Regions from separate parts of the Homo sapiens genome. Here region 2 is linked to region 1. Evidence: promoter capture Hi-C in human tissues and cell types (Jung and others, 2019). All regions are on one chromosome and are shown on one strand. Each heading gives the region's core, a stretch centred on a gene start or on the middle of the fragment in contact. The rest is flanking DNA. Distances are from core to core; before and after follow the strand shown. Region 1 holds the start of GFRA4 (GDNF family receptor alpha 4). Region 2 overlaps SMOX (spermine oxidase).

The links. Contacts are between HindIII fragments. The study calls those that stand out against the background at their distance.
Region 2: a contact is called between a fragment that was not itself captured here and the fragment with the promoter of GFRA4 in region 1, in 2 of the 25 tissues and cell types used here (dorsolateral prefrontal cortex and spleen).

The regions. Positions count from the first base shown.
Region 1 is chr20:3,660,436-3,666,105 of GRCh38, reverse strand. GFRA4 (GDNF family receptor alpha 4) reads left to right here and starts at 2,707. Exons shown (of 6, transcript NM_022139.4): 1 at 2,707-2,752; 2 at 4,817-5,162; 3 at 5,242-5,351; 4 at 5,446-5,580. The coding sequence starts at 2,707. RefSeq lists silencers at 5,082-5,191, 5,282-5,331. The HindIII fragment of the contact is 25,120 bases long and covers 1-5,670 here.
Region 2 is chr20:4,181,455-4,187,124 of GRCh38, reverse strand. It overlaps SMOX (spermine oxidase), which reads right to left. Exons shown (of 7, transcript NM_175839.3): 4 at 5,149-5,322; 5 at 4,277-5,036; 6 at 3,471-3,631. Among named protein-coding and RNA genes, the nearest start is that of LINC01433, 8.8 kb to the left of the region's middle. The HindIII fragment of the contact is 6,680 bases long and covers 1-5,670 here.

The DNA.
Region 1 (5,670 bases), core at 1,458-3,957:
CAGAGCTTGGTTTTGAGTTTCCTTCCCTCACCCCTCTTTCCTCCCACACGCCAAAACACAAGAGGATGTGTCAGAGGCCTGTGAACCAGAGCAACTCCATCCTGAATAGGGGCTGAGCAAAATAAGGCTGAGACCTACTGGGCTGCGTTTCCAGACAGTTACAGCATTCTGCGTCACAGGATGAGATAGGAGATACAGGTCATAAAGACCTTGCTGATAAAATAGTTTGCAGTAGGCCAGGCGCGGTAGCTCACGCCTGTAATCCCAGCACTTTGGGAGGCTGAGGTGGGCGGATCACCTGAGGTCAGAAGTTCGAGACCAGCCTGGCCAACAAGGTGAAACCTCATCTCTACTAAAAATACAAAAACTAGCCAGGCATGGTGGTGTGTGCCTGTAATCCCAGCTACTTGGGAGGCTGAGGCAGGAGAATCGCTTGAACCCAGGAGGTGGAGGTTGCAGTGAGCTGAGATCGTGTCACTGCACTCCAGCCTGGAGCGAGACTCCGTCTCAAAAAACAAAACAAACAAAAAAATCAGCTTGCAATATAGAAGCTGGCTAAAACCCACCCAAACCAAGATGGTGATGAGAGTGACCTCTGGTCGTCCCCACTGCTACACTCCCACCAGCGCCATGACAGGTTACAGATGCCATGGCAGTATCAGGAAGTTACCATATATGGTCTAAAAAGGGGAGACATGAACAATCCACCCCTGTTTAGCAGATCATCCAGAAACAACCATAAAAATGGGCAACCAGCAGCCCTCAGGGCTGCGCTCTCTATGGAGTAGCCATTCTTTTATTCTTTTACTTTCCTAATAAATGTGCTTTCACTTTATGGACTCGTCTCAAATTCTTTCTTGCACGAGATCCAAGAACCCTCTCCTGGGGTCTGAATCTGGACCCCTTTCCGGTAACAGATGTCGTAGAGTGAAGCACAACCACTGCAGGGGCATCTTGGTTTACATTTTGCTTCAGCGGCCATGGTTAGCACAGCGGAAAGCACATCACAGTCTTCTGATTCATTAAAAAAATTAGGAAATGGACCACCACAAACCACAGACAGATGTACTGAGACAGGATAGGTAGTCAAGAAAGTGACCATGTTCTAGGCGCGCAGCAGCAACTGTGGTGACCGTACAGTCAACAAGCCTCAGCACTGGCATTGCAATTGAGCTCATTCAAGCAAAGCTATCTTCAGCAGGGACTTCTCCCTCTAGGCAGCAAGCGCATTTTTATTTTACCTGTCCTCAAACTGATCCTTTGCTCCTTATAATAGTAAGGAACACACCCCTGTGTGGAGATTTAAGATGCTAATGAGGCCAAGCGCAGTTGCTCACGTCTGTAATTCCAGCACTTTGGGAGGCAGAGGTGGGCGGGTCACTTGAGGTTAGAAGTTCGAGACCAGCCTGGCCAACATGGTGAAACCTTGTCTCTACTAAAAATACAAAAATTAGCCGGGCATGGTGGCGGGCGTCTGTAATCCCAGCTACCTGGGAGGCTGAGGCAGAAGAATCGCTTGAACCTGGGAGGCGGAGGTTGCAGTGAGCCAAGATCGTGCCACTGCACTCCAGCCTGAGGGAGAGAGAGAGCAAGACATCGTTTTTGTTTGTTTGTTTGTTTGTTTGTTTGTTTTTTAAAAAAAAGTCAAGACAAATCATAGTGGGGGCTTTTCTGGTCACTTTTTAAATCTTAGTGTTGAGACTTTATTTGAGACAGGGCCTTACTCTGTTGCCCAGGTTGGATGAGATTTTTAACCTCAATATTTACTTATAGAATAACTTTTTGGTTAGTCAAAACAATGCTGTGTCTCATTCTGATCAGAATAAAACATCAGACAACTCAAGAGAAACATTCTGCAAAATAACTGGCCAGGATTCTTCAAAAGTGTCAAGGGTAAAGATAAGGAAAGATGAAGGAACTCCCAGATTGAGGAGAATAAGGAGACAACTGTGATGTGGGATCCTAGAATGGATCTTGGAACAGAAAAAGGACATTAGTGGAAAAATGAGAAATGCAAAACAGTCTACAGTTTCGTTAACAGGATTGTACCAAGGTTAGTTTCCTAGCTGTAATGATTGGACTATGATTAAGTAAGATGGACCATCAGGGGAAGCTGGGTGAAGGGTGTAAGGAAAATGCTTACATTTTCCAACTTTTCTGCAAGTCTAAAATTAGTCAACAATAAGAAGTTTAAAATAGGCCAGGCATGGTGGCTCACACCTGTCATCCTAGCACTTTGAGAGGCCGAGGTGGGAGGATGGTTTGAGCCCAGGAGTTCAAGACCAGCCTGCGCAATAGAGCGAGACCCCAACTCTATTCAAAAAAATTTTTTTAAGTTTAAAATAGAATTATATAAAAAAGGAAAAGAAAAATGCTGTTTCATAGCGTTCCTAGTTTAGCATGGGAGAGACCAGGTCTCCCTGGGTGGTTGTCTGTGTGTTGCTGGGTGTGCGTGGCAGGGCTAGTGTGTTGGGGTCCGTCTAGGCACATTCAGGCGCCGAATCCCGTGGCTCCCAGGTTTACCTGACGGTGCAGCCTGGGGTGGAGACTTAATGAGGGCGGGGAGTTGCTGCAGCAAAGGCTCCTCCCAGGGGTATCAGCGCAGACAGCTGGGTTTTCACTGTGCTCCTGCTCCAGAGGCACTAGGAAGGGGGCGCCTATCAGACTAGGGCTCTGCCAGCCATCCTTCTCTGTTGAAGGTCCAGCATGGTCCGCTGCCTGGGGCCTGCGCTGCTGCTGCTGCTGTTACTGGGTGAGCGCCCCTCTCTTCCCCTGGACCCCGAACCCTGGCCTCTCTGTCCCTGCTCCTCAGTGACAAGGTGGGAGGGCAAGATATTCCAGGAAAAGCTGAACCACAGGAAGGGTTGCCAGTGAGAGGCCTGTGCGCACGGCTTGGGGACCCCTGGCAATTGACCCCACTATGTGCTGAGCACCTCACCTCCCAGCCCCGTCAAGCCACCACCGCCATCCCCCTCCCGAGTCCAGCCTTGGCACCCGTGCCCCAGGAACTTTTGCCTATTGTCTGCCATCTCCCAACTCTCTCACCCTCCCCTCAGCCCCAGCCCTCCTACCCATCACACAGATTCCTTGGTGAATCTTCGGTGTTGTTCATCTGTTGTTCCACCTTCTTGGACTGCTCCGTCCCTGCATGGATGTCGCGGAGGGAGGGGTCACTTTACCGAGTGTAGTGTGGAAAGTGGAATCTGGTAAAGGTTTAAGGTGGAGGAGATCTTGCAGCTGAGATGAGCTGCTGTGAGGGTGGAGACTGGGTAAGGGTGTTCTGGGCAAGGGTGACAGGTAAGCAACAGGCAGAGGTGGGTTCAAACCCTTAGGCAACATCAGGTGCTGGTGTGTGCAGCTGAGACCTGAGGATGTGCCTGGCAAGGCTGTGAGAGGAAAGCAAAGTGTGCCCTTTGGGGAGGGGAGGAAGGGAGGACTCACCCCGCTGCCATCTATCCCCTCCACTCAGGGACCATTCTAAGCCCTCGAGCTATGTTCATCCTTCCTGCAGAGGCAGGTGCTGAAGTCACAGCAGGAATCACTCTCACCACGCGGTCCAATCCACAGCCTGAAAGACACAGCCATTGCCAGAGAGGCACCCTGCTCCCAGCCCTGGGGGGGGGATACCACCCCGTAGCCCCTGTGCACAAACACACAGGGAGATGGATGAGGGGCCAGGCTGTGCACGTCCACTCAGGCTGGGCACCAGAAAGGCTTCTAGTCTGAATGAGATGCTCCAGACTGGAGAACTTGTGGAGGCTGGGGGGGATTCGATTAGCCTGGTTTTTGTGACTCAAATCCTGGGAAGGGGCTGCCAAGTCCCAACTTCCAGTTATCCTGGCTCTATTTAGACACAGCCTGTGGGCATGTGGGCAGAGCTCACCCTCTGTCTACCCAACCCCTGGTGTGTGACTGGGGTGCCAGGCACCTTCTCTGTCTCCAGCAGGGTGTCACCTATCATGGGGCCTGGTCACTAAAACCACTGATGAACCCTTGGGTCCTGTGGCTCAGGACAAAGCCCGGCGGTGTGTCGTCAGGGACTTCTCTGAATCCACACCCTGGCAGCCAGGACTCAGTGGGTTCTTCAGTGGCCAGAGCTCTTGCATGAATCCGCTCTCCCCTGGCTGATGAAGGGTGGAGGGGCTGGAGGAAGCCAGTGCAGATGGGGCAGGATGACCTCGACTCAAGGGAGCATCAGGAAGGGCTGGAGAGGGGAGACACCCATGCAGGGGGCAGGAGGAGGAGCAGGAGGTCAGGAAGGAGGGAGAAACAGAAATCAATAGACCCACCCAAAGGGTCTCCATGGTGGAGGATAAGCGGCGAGGTGGAGGGGGTAGAGGAGGAAAGGTATGGCGTCACAGCCTGTCATTAAGAGACTAGGAGCAGCCACTGTCTTCTATGCCATCTCTGGTTTTAAAGTCTCCATTGGCCAGATCCCCAGAAAGCCTCATTGTTCCCCCGTCAGGTAGTGCCATTGAGTGTAGGAGGAGCCCCTGGACCCGTCTTTGGACGTGTGTGGCCGTTCTGGAGAAATGGTGGCGATGCTTGGGAAGGAGGGGCTTCAGCTTTTGGGGAAGGCCTGGCTCAGCCTCCATGCTCCCTCTCCATCCCTGACGTGTTGCAGAGCCCTCCAGAGCCCGCCGCTGCCCATCCCCACGACGGAGAGCCGATCAGTGCCAGTCGGCCCCGCCTTTGGGCCACACTCTATGCTTTCTCGGGTTTTCAGTGTCCCCCACCTTCCAGGGGCGTGGATGGGCTGGGTGAAGTGTGCATGCGGGGCGCACTGAGACCTGCAGCCTCCCCGCGCCTTTCCCAGGGTCGGCGAGCTCGGTCGGAGGGAACCGATGTGTGGACGCGGCCGAAGCCTGCACGGCGGACGCGCGGTGCCAGCGTTTGCGCTCCGAGTATGTGGCGCAGTGCCTGGGCCGGGCTGCGCAGGGGGGCTGTCCCCGCGCCCGCTGCCGCCGGGCCCTGCGCCGCTTCTTCGCCCGCGGGCCGCCCGCGCTCACCCACGCACTGCTCTTCTGCCCGTGCGCGGGCCCCGCGTGCGCCGAGCGTCGGCGCCAGACCTTCGTGCCCTCCTGCGCCTTTTCGGGGCCCGGCCCCGCGCCGCCCTCCTGCCTTGAGCCCTTAAACTTCTGCGAGCGCAGCCGGGTCTGCAGGTGCGCGCGGGCGGCGGCGGGGCCGTGGCGAGGGTGGGGACGGGGCCTCTCTCCGGCTCACCGCCCTCCCGCCGCGCAGGCCTCGCCTCCTGGCCTTTCAGGTCTCGTGCACCCCAGCGCCCAGCGCCCCCGACGGCTGCCTGCTGGACCAGGGCGCCCGCTGCCTGCGCGCCTACGCGGGCCTCGTGGGTACGCGCGGCCGGGATCCGGGCGAGGGCGGGGGTTCTCCAGGGGATATCTCCGCCCGGGTGGGCCGATGACTTCGCCCTCAGGGTCCCCGCAGGCACCGCCGTCACCCCTAACTACGTGGACAACGTGAGCGCGCGCGTGGCGCCCTGGTGCGACTGCGGAGCCAGCGGGAACCGGCGTGAGGACTGCGAAGCCTTCCGGGGGCTCTTTACCAGGAACCGCTGCTTGGGTGAGGGGCCCGGGGGGGAGTGGAGGGGGAGTGGGGGCGGCGCTTACTGCCCCCTCCCAAGCCGCCTGGCTGGGAGCCATTTTAGAGGGG
Region 2 (5,670 bases), core at 1,523-4,022, 520 kb before region 1:
AGAGCTGCCCATCCTATCTGGCCACTTTCCCCTGCTTCTTCCCTTGGCTCTTTCTGTCTTGAGGCCATTAGGAGTCCCGGCTCTGTGGTCTCAAAGGCTCTTTGTGCCTCTTACTTGTCAACTTGAGGCAGGTGGTTTAACCTCCCTAAGCCTTGCTTTTCTCATCTTCCAAATGGGTTTATACCACCTACTTCGGAGGGTGGTTGTAAGGATTAAGGGAAATCATGTATCTAAAGCACTTAGAACCTGGAAGAACAAAGCACTCAATAAAGTCGGTGGTAATTTGACAAACCTTTACGGCGCCCCTGTTAGCATCCAGGGGCTGTTCTGGGCACTTGGAAGAGAAAAGGTGACCAGGCTGCTGCTTTGTGGAGCTTCCATGCTGGTGAGGAAGCCAGACATGAAACCCAATTACTAAACAGCGTCATATGTGATGGAATGGGTGTTTGCACAAGGCGCCGAAAGCCCAGAAAAGAGGCCCAGTGTCAGGGGATCCCACAAAGCTTCCCAGAGGACAGGACCTTTGAACTGGTTCTCGGAAGATGCTGAGTGAACGGACAGGCAAAGGACATTTCAGACAGAGGGAAAGGTGGGGGCAAAAATGTACCAAAGCAGGCCTTGCTCGGGGGACAGTGAGAATTTTGGTACAGCCAGGGCTCGGCCTTGAGAAAGCAGGCTGTCTAGGTGAGGTCTAGGCAAGGTACAAGTTCTTGCACCCCAAGTTTGCATTTGGACTTTATCCTAGTTCCTCTCAAATTCAAGGTGCAAGGCACCAGCTGTGGATCCTGATAAAATGCAGTTTTTATTTATTATTTTTGAGACAGTGTCTCACTCTATTGCCCCAGTTGGAGTGCAGTAACATGATCACAGCTCCACTGCAGCCTCAACTTCCTGGGCTCAAGCAATCCTCCCATCTAAGCCTCCTAAGTAGTTGGGACTACAGGCACACACCACCACACCTGGCTAATTTTTTTTTAAATTTTTTGTTGAGATGGAGGTCTTACTTTGTTGCCCAGGCTGGTCTTGAACTCCTGAGCTCAAGCCATCCTCCCACTTCGGCCTCCCATAGTGCTGGGATTATGGGCAGGAGCCTGCATCCCTGGCCAGAATGCAGTTTTTAATCCAGCAGGTCTGGGGTGGGCTGAGAGTCTGCATTTCTTTTTATTTATTTATTTATTTGTGTGTGTGTGTGTTTAGGGCGCCAGGGGTTGTTGTTTTTTGGTTTTTGTTTTGAGACAGGGTCTCGCTCTGTCACCCAGGCTGGAGTGCAATGGCATGATCTCAACTCACTGCAACCTCCGCCTCCCAGCTTCAAGCAATTCTCATGCCTCAGCCTCCCAAGTAGCTAGAACTACAGGTGTGCACCACCATGCCTGGCTAATTTTGTATTTTTAGTAGAGACAGGGTTTCGCCATGTTGGCCAGGCTGAGAATCTGCATTTCTTTTTATTTATTTATTTATTTGTGTGTGTGTGTGTTTAGGGCGCCAGGGGTTGTTGTTTTTTGGTTTTTGTTTTGAGACAGGGTCTCGCTCTGTCACCCAGGCTGGAGTGCAATGGCATGATCTCAACTCACTGCAACCTCCGCCTCCCAGCTTCAAGCAATTCTCATGCCTCAGCCTCCCAAGTAGCTAGAACTACAGGTGTGCACCACCATGCCTGGCTAATTTTGTATTTTTAGTAGAGACAGGGTTTCGCCATGTTGGCCAGGCTGAGAATCTGCATTTCTAACTAGCTCCCAGGTGAGGCTGGTACTGATCTACCTACCCTGAGTAGTGAGGCTGTAATCCCACCACCAAGGAGCCCACAGAGGCTGTTACACTGAAAGGGGTGTTGTATACTGTGTCAGCCTTGACCTCCTGGGCTCAAGTGATCCTCCCACCTCAGCCTCCCAAGTAGCTGGGACCACTCCCACATCCAACCATTCTCCTCTTTCTCCTCAATAACAAAGTCCTGATTTTTAACTGGGTCCATTGCCATCCAGAATAAAAATGATACTGCCCAGCCTCTGTAGCAGCTAGGTGCAGTCATGTGTCTATGTTCTGGCCAATAAGCATTAAAGTGCACTGTTGCTTAGAGACACAGCTGACTCAGCTCCAAGGGTTCCCTTCTTGCCATCTGCCTTTCCTCTTCCTTCTAGCCTAAGATGCAGATGTGAGAACTGGAGCTTCTGCAGCCCTCTTGGACCACAAGATGGTCTTGAAGATGAGAGCCAGGTGCTAATGATACGGGATCCTGCTGCCTGCCTCCAGATTTCCTTTTGATTTTCCTTGTTTAAGTCACAGTTGTGTTTGCTTTGCTTTGCTTTTTGCTACATGCACTAGTCCTAACTGATGCAAGTGAAAAGAGAAGATTTGCTTTTTAGGAGGATGGCTGTGGCAGCAGAAAGGGCCTTTCTGAGGACCTCTCTCTCTTTAAACACCAGCCCTTTTCTCTCTCCATCTGAGCACCGTTGGGCAGGCATAGTAGATGCTGGTTGACTGAACTCTTCTTCACCAATTATACCAAATAATTGTTTTAAATATAACTGTTGAGTTTTAACATTTACTGTGTGTGTCTACTTGATGGGGGAAACTCAAAATCCACTTTATGGGAGCATAAATATATATTTCAGATTTTTTTTTTTTAGTGTACAGTTGGCATATTGTGGAGCATCAGTAATCTAAACTTTATTTTCTGAAATATATTGGGAAAACATTTCCATTGAATCAGTGCTGTCCAATAGGACATTCCTATCGCTATGTACTTTACTATGGTAACCTCTAGCCACATGTGGCTGTTGAACTTGAAATGTGACTAGTGCAACCAAGGAACAAAAACTTTACTGTATTGGCCAAGTGTGGTGGCTCATTCCTATAATCCTAGCACTTCAGGAGGTTGAGGCGGGAGGACAGCTTGAGCCCAAGAGTTCAAGACCAGCCTAGCAGTATGATGAAACCCCATCTCTACCAAAAAAAAAAAAAAAGTACAAAAATTAGCTGGACATGGTGGCGTGCCGGCATGCCTGTGGTCCCAGCTAGTTGGGAGGCTGAGGTGGGAGGATCACTTGAGCCCAGGAGGTCAAGGCTGCAGTGAGCTGTGATCACACCACTATACCCCAGCCTGAAGTGTAGACAGAGCAAGACCCTGTCTCAAAAAAGAAAAAAAAAATACTGTATTAATTTAAATTTTTAATAAATTAATTTAAATTGAAAGTGGCTGATAGCTACCGTATTGGCCAGCACAGCATGGAATAGCTCAGTTTTCATAACATCAAGAAAACATTTTAAGTTTCAATTTGATTCCATTTTTTCTTCCAGATATTAAGTGCACACTTTTTTCCTTGTGTTCTCTCTCATTACAGAAGCTACTCCATCCCTGCCTCACCTGAGCACCCCTTAGTGAACACTACCCTAGCCCTCCTCACCCTGGACCGGACACACATACAAAATACACCCACAACTCCCCTCCTCACCCCAAACGCCCCGCTTACCGCTGTCTTTGAGCTCTCTGTGTACGGCAGGGGCTTGGCCAGCTTCTCCACATCCGCCCCGCTGGAGCCCACCTGCGTGTATGAATAGGAGCCGCGGAAGTAAGGGTTGCTGCCCCAGGCCGAGCGCAAGATTCGCCGAGGTTTTGGAATGTTGGGGTTCCCTGATGGAGAGTCAGAAAAGCCAAGAGGAGGGAGGATAAGAAATGGCTGCATATGGAAGATGACCCCAAAGGGACAACCCCCCACCCCACCTCCAGGGCTCCGGGAGGACCAGACTGCCAGGGGTAGGCACGGAGGATAGAAGAGGAAGGAGGGAGGCTGGGGCTCGAGCTGTGTACCCACTCAGCGCCTCCTGTGACCCCCGGCAAAACGCTCCACCTTACTTTTCCTATCTATCTGAAAACACATGACACATAATCATGTTTCCCCGCCTAATATCGGGGGTTCTCGTGAGGTCCTCCTGGAATAGTGGGTGAAAAATGTTGAGCTGAAAGACTCAGAGAGTAAAAGGCAAATCCAGCTCTTAGCAACAGAGCACAATGGGCGGTGATCTCTGAGTGTTTTACCATCAGCCTTTAGAAAGGGGGAAGAGACACAGCGCCCATAATTCTGAGTGTGTCAAGTTCTAAACTGTCAGCAACTGAAGAGCCTTTGGCTGAATGTGGCACCCTGCAGTGGCTCTCCCGTGGGGCACAGCATCCGAGCTTCACGGTCTGGGGAGGAGAGAGCTGCCATGGGTCCACCAGAGGAGGGCAGGTGAGGAAGAAGCAGGGTGGGGGAAGCGGGTCGTGGGGCACGTGGCGCACCTGTGAACTGACGCAGCATCTCCGTGCAGATCTCGGCCACTGCCTCGTCATCACACTTCTCCATGACGAGGGCCTCCTCCCCGCAGATCCAGCCGCTCAGCACATGGCCGTAGCGCTCAGGCGGGTAGAGGACATCAAAGCCGCAGATCTTGCGGTACCAGAGCTCAGGTGGGTAGGTGAGGGTGTGGCTCTCTGCTTCGTCCTCCCACACAAACTGTAGGCTGTTGCACTCAGGGCCCCAGAAGGGCTCCTCGAATTCCAGAAAGATCTTGTCGGTGGTGCCAATGCCCAGGCGGTGGATGGCAGCCACCTTCTCTGTGGGCAGGCCTGGCCGGAAGAAACTGGTGTACTGCCTCTTTAGCACACCTAGCGACACGGTCACAATCACATGGTCCGCCGGGATCAGCTCACAGTCCTCGCACTCCACCACCACCGACCACTGCTCATCCTCATCCCACCTGCCCCCCCGGGGCTCCTCTCCACCCTGGCCACCCTCCCCAGTGTCGTGATTGTGGTCGCCCTCACCCCGGGGCTCAATCTCAGGGCCTCTGGGGCGGGCTGAGGCCTGGTCCCAGTGAATGCAGCGGACAGGTTTCCCTAGCTGGATGACGTGGGCAGGGATGCCCTCCGCCAGCAGCTCCACAACCCGCATGAAGCCCGAGGGGATGATGTGGTGAGCGCCGGGGATCTCGGTCCACTCCCCGAAGGCGCTCAGGGACACCTCGTCCATGCTGTGTGAGCTGCTCTCACAGCTCTCCACCTGCGGGAAGACCCAAGGAGAAGCCAGGTGACCGCCGGGGTTGGGCAGGGGTAGGAGCAGCGTAGCCCTCCTCAGACCCAGACGCCCCCAGAATCCGTCTTCCTCAAGATACCTTCAGGTACTGCTGGATCATGGCGAGCTTCAGGCGCTTGGTAGCCTCTGGGTCGTCAGGGTCATTCCTGATGCGGTTACGCACCTCCTCTCGGGTGAACACCCCCACGCTATTTTGACTTTCAGCATTGACTGGTTTATCGTGCCGGAAGAACTCCTGGGTCAAGTTATAGACCTGCCAGAGAGACCCCATGAGACTGAAAACACCTCATCACACCTCCATCTCAAACAGAAGGCCCCCAACCCAAACCCACCAGTTCCCAGGTGTCCCCTGGATGCACTGAGCCCCTGGTCTCTGTCCCTTAGGGATCCGATGTTGCACTCAATGCTGCACCAAAAGCCAAGGCCCCGGGCAGCCACCTCCTCGCCTCCGGCCTGTCGGGGAGGTGGGATAAGCCCCGGAGGTTTTCTTGCTGGGCCCTCACTTAGGACAATGTGAAACATTTGGTGCCCATACAGTCTGTGGGAAAGAAGCCACCCCTCATGGACTCTGCATGGGCCTCCATGGGCTCCACCTCCCACT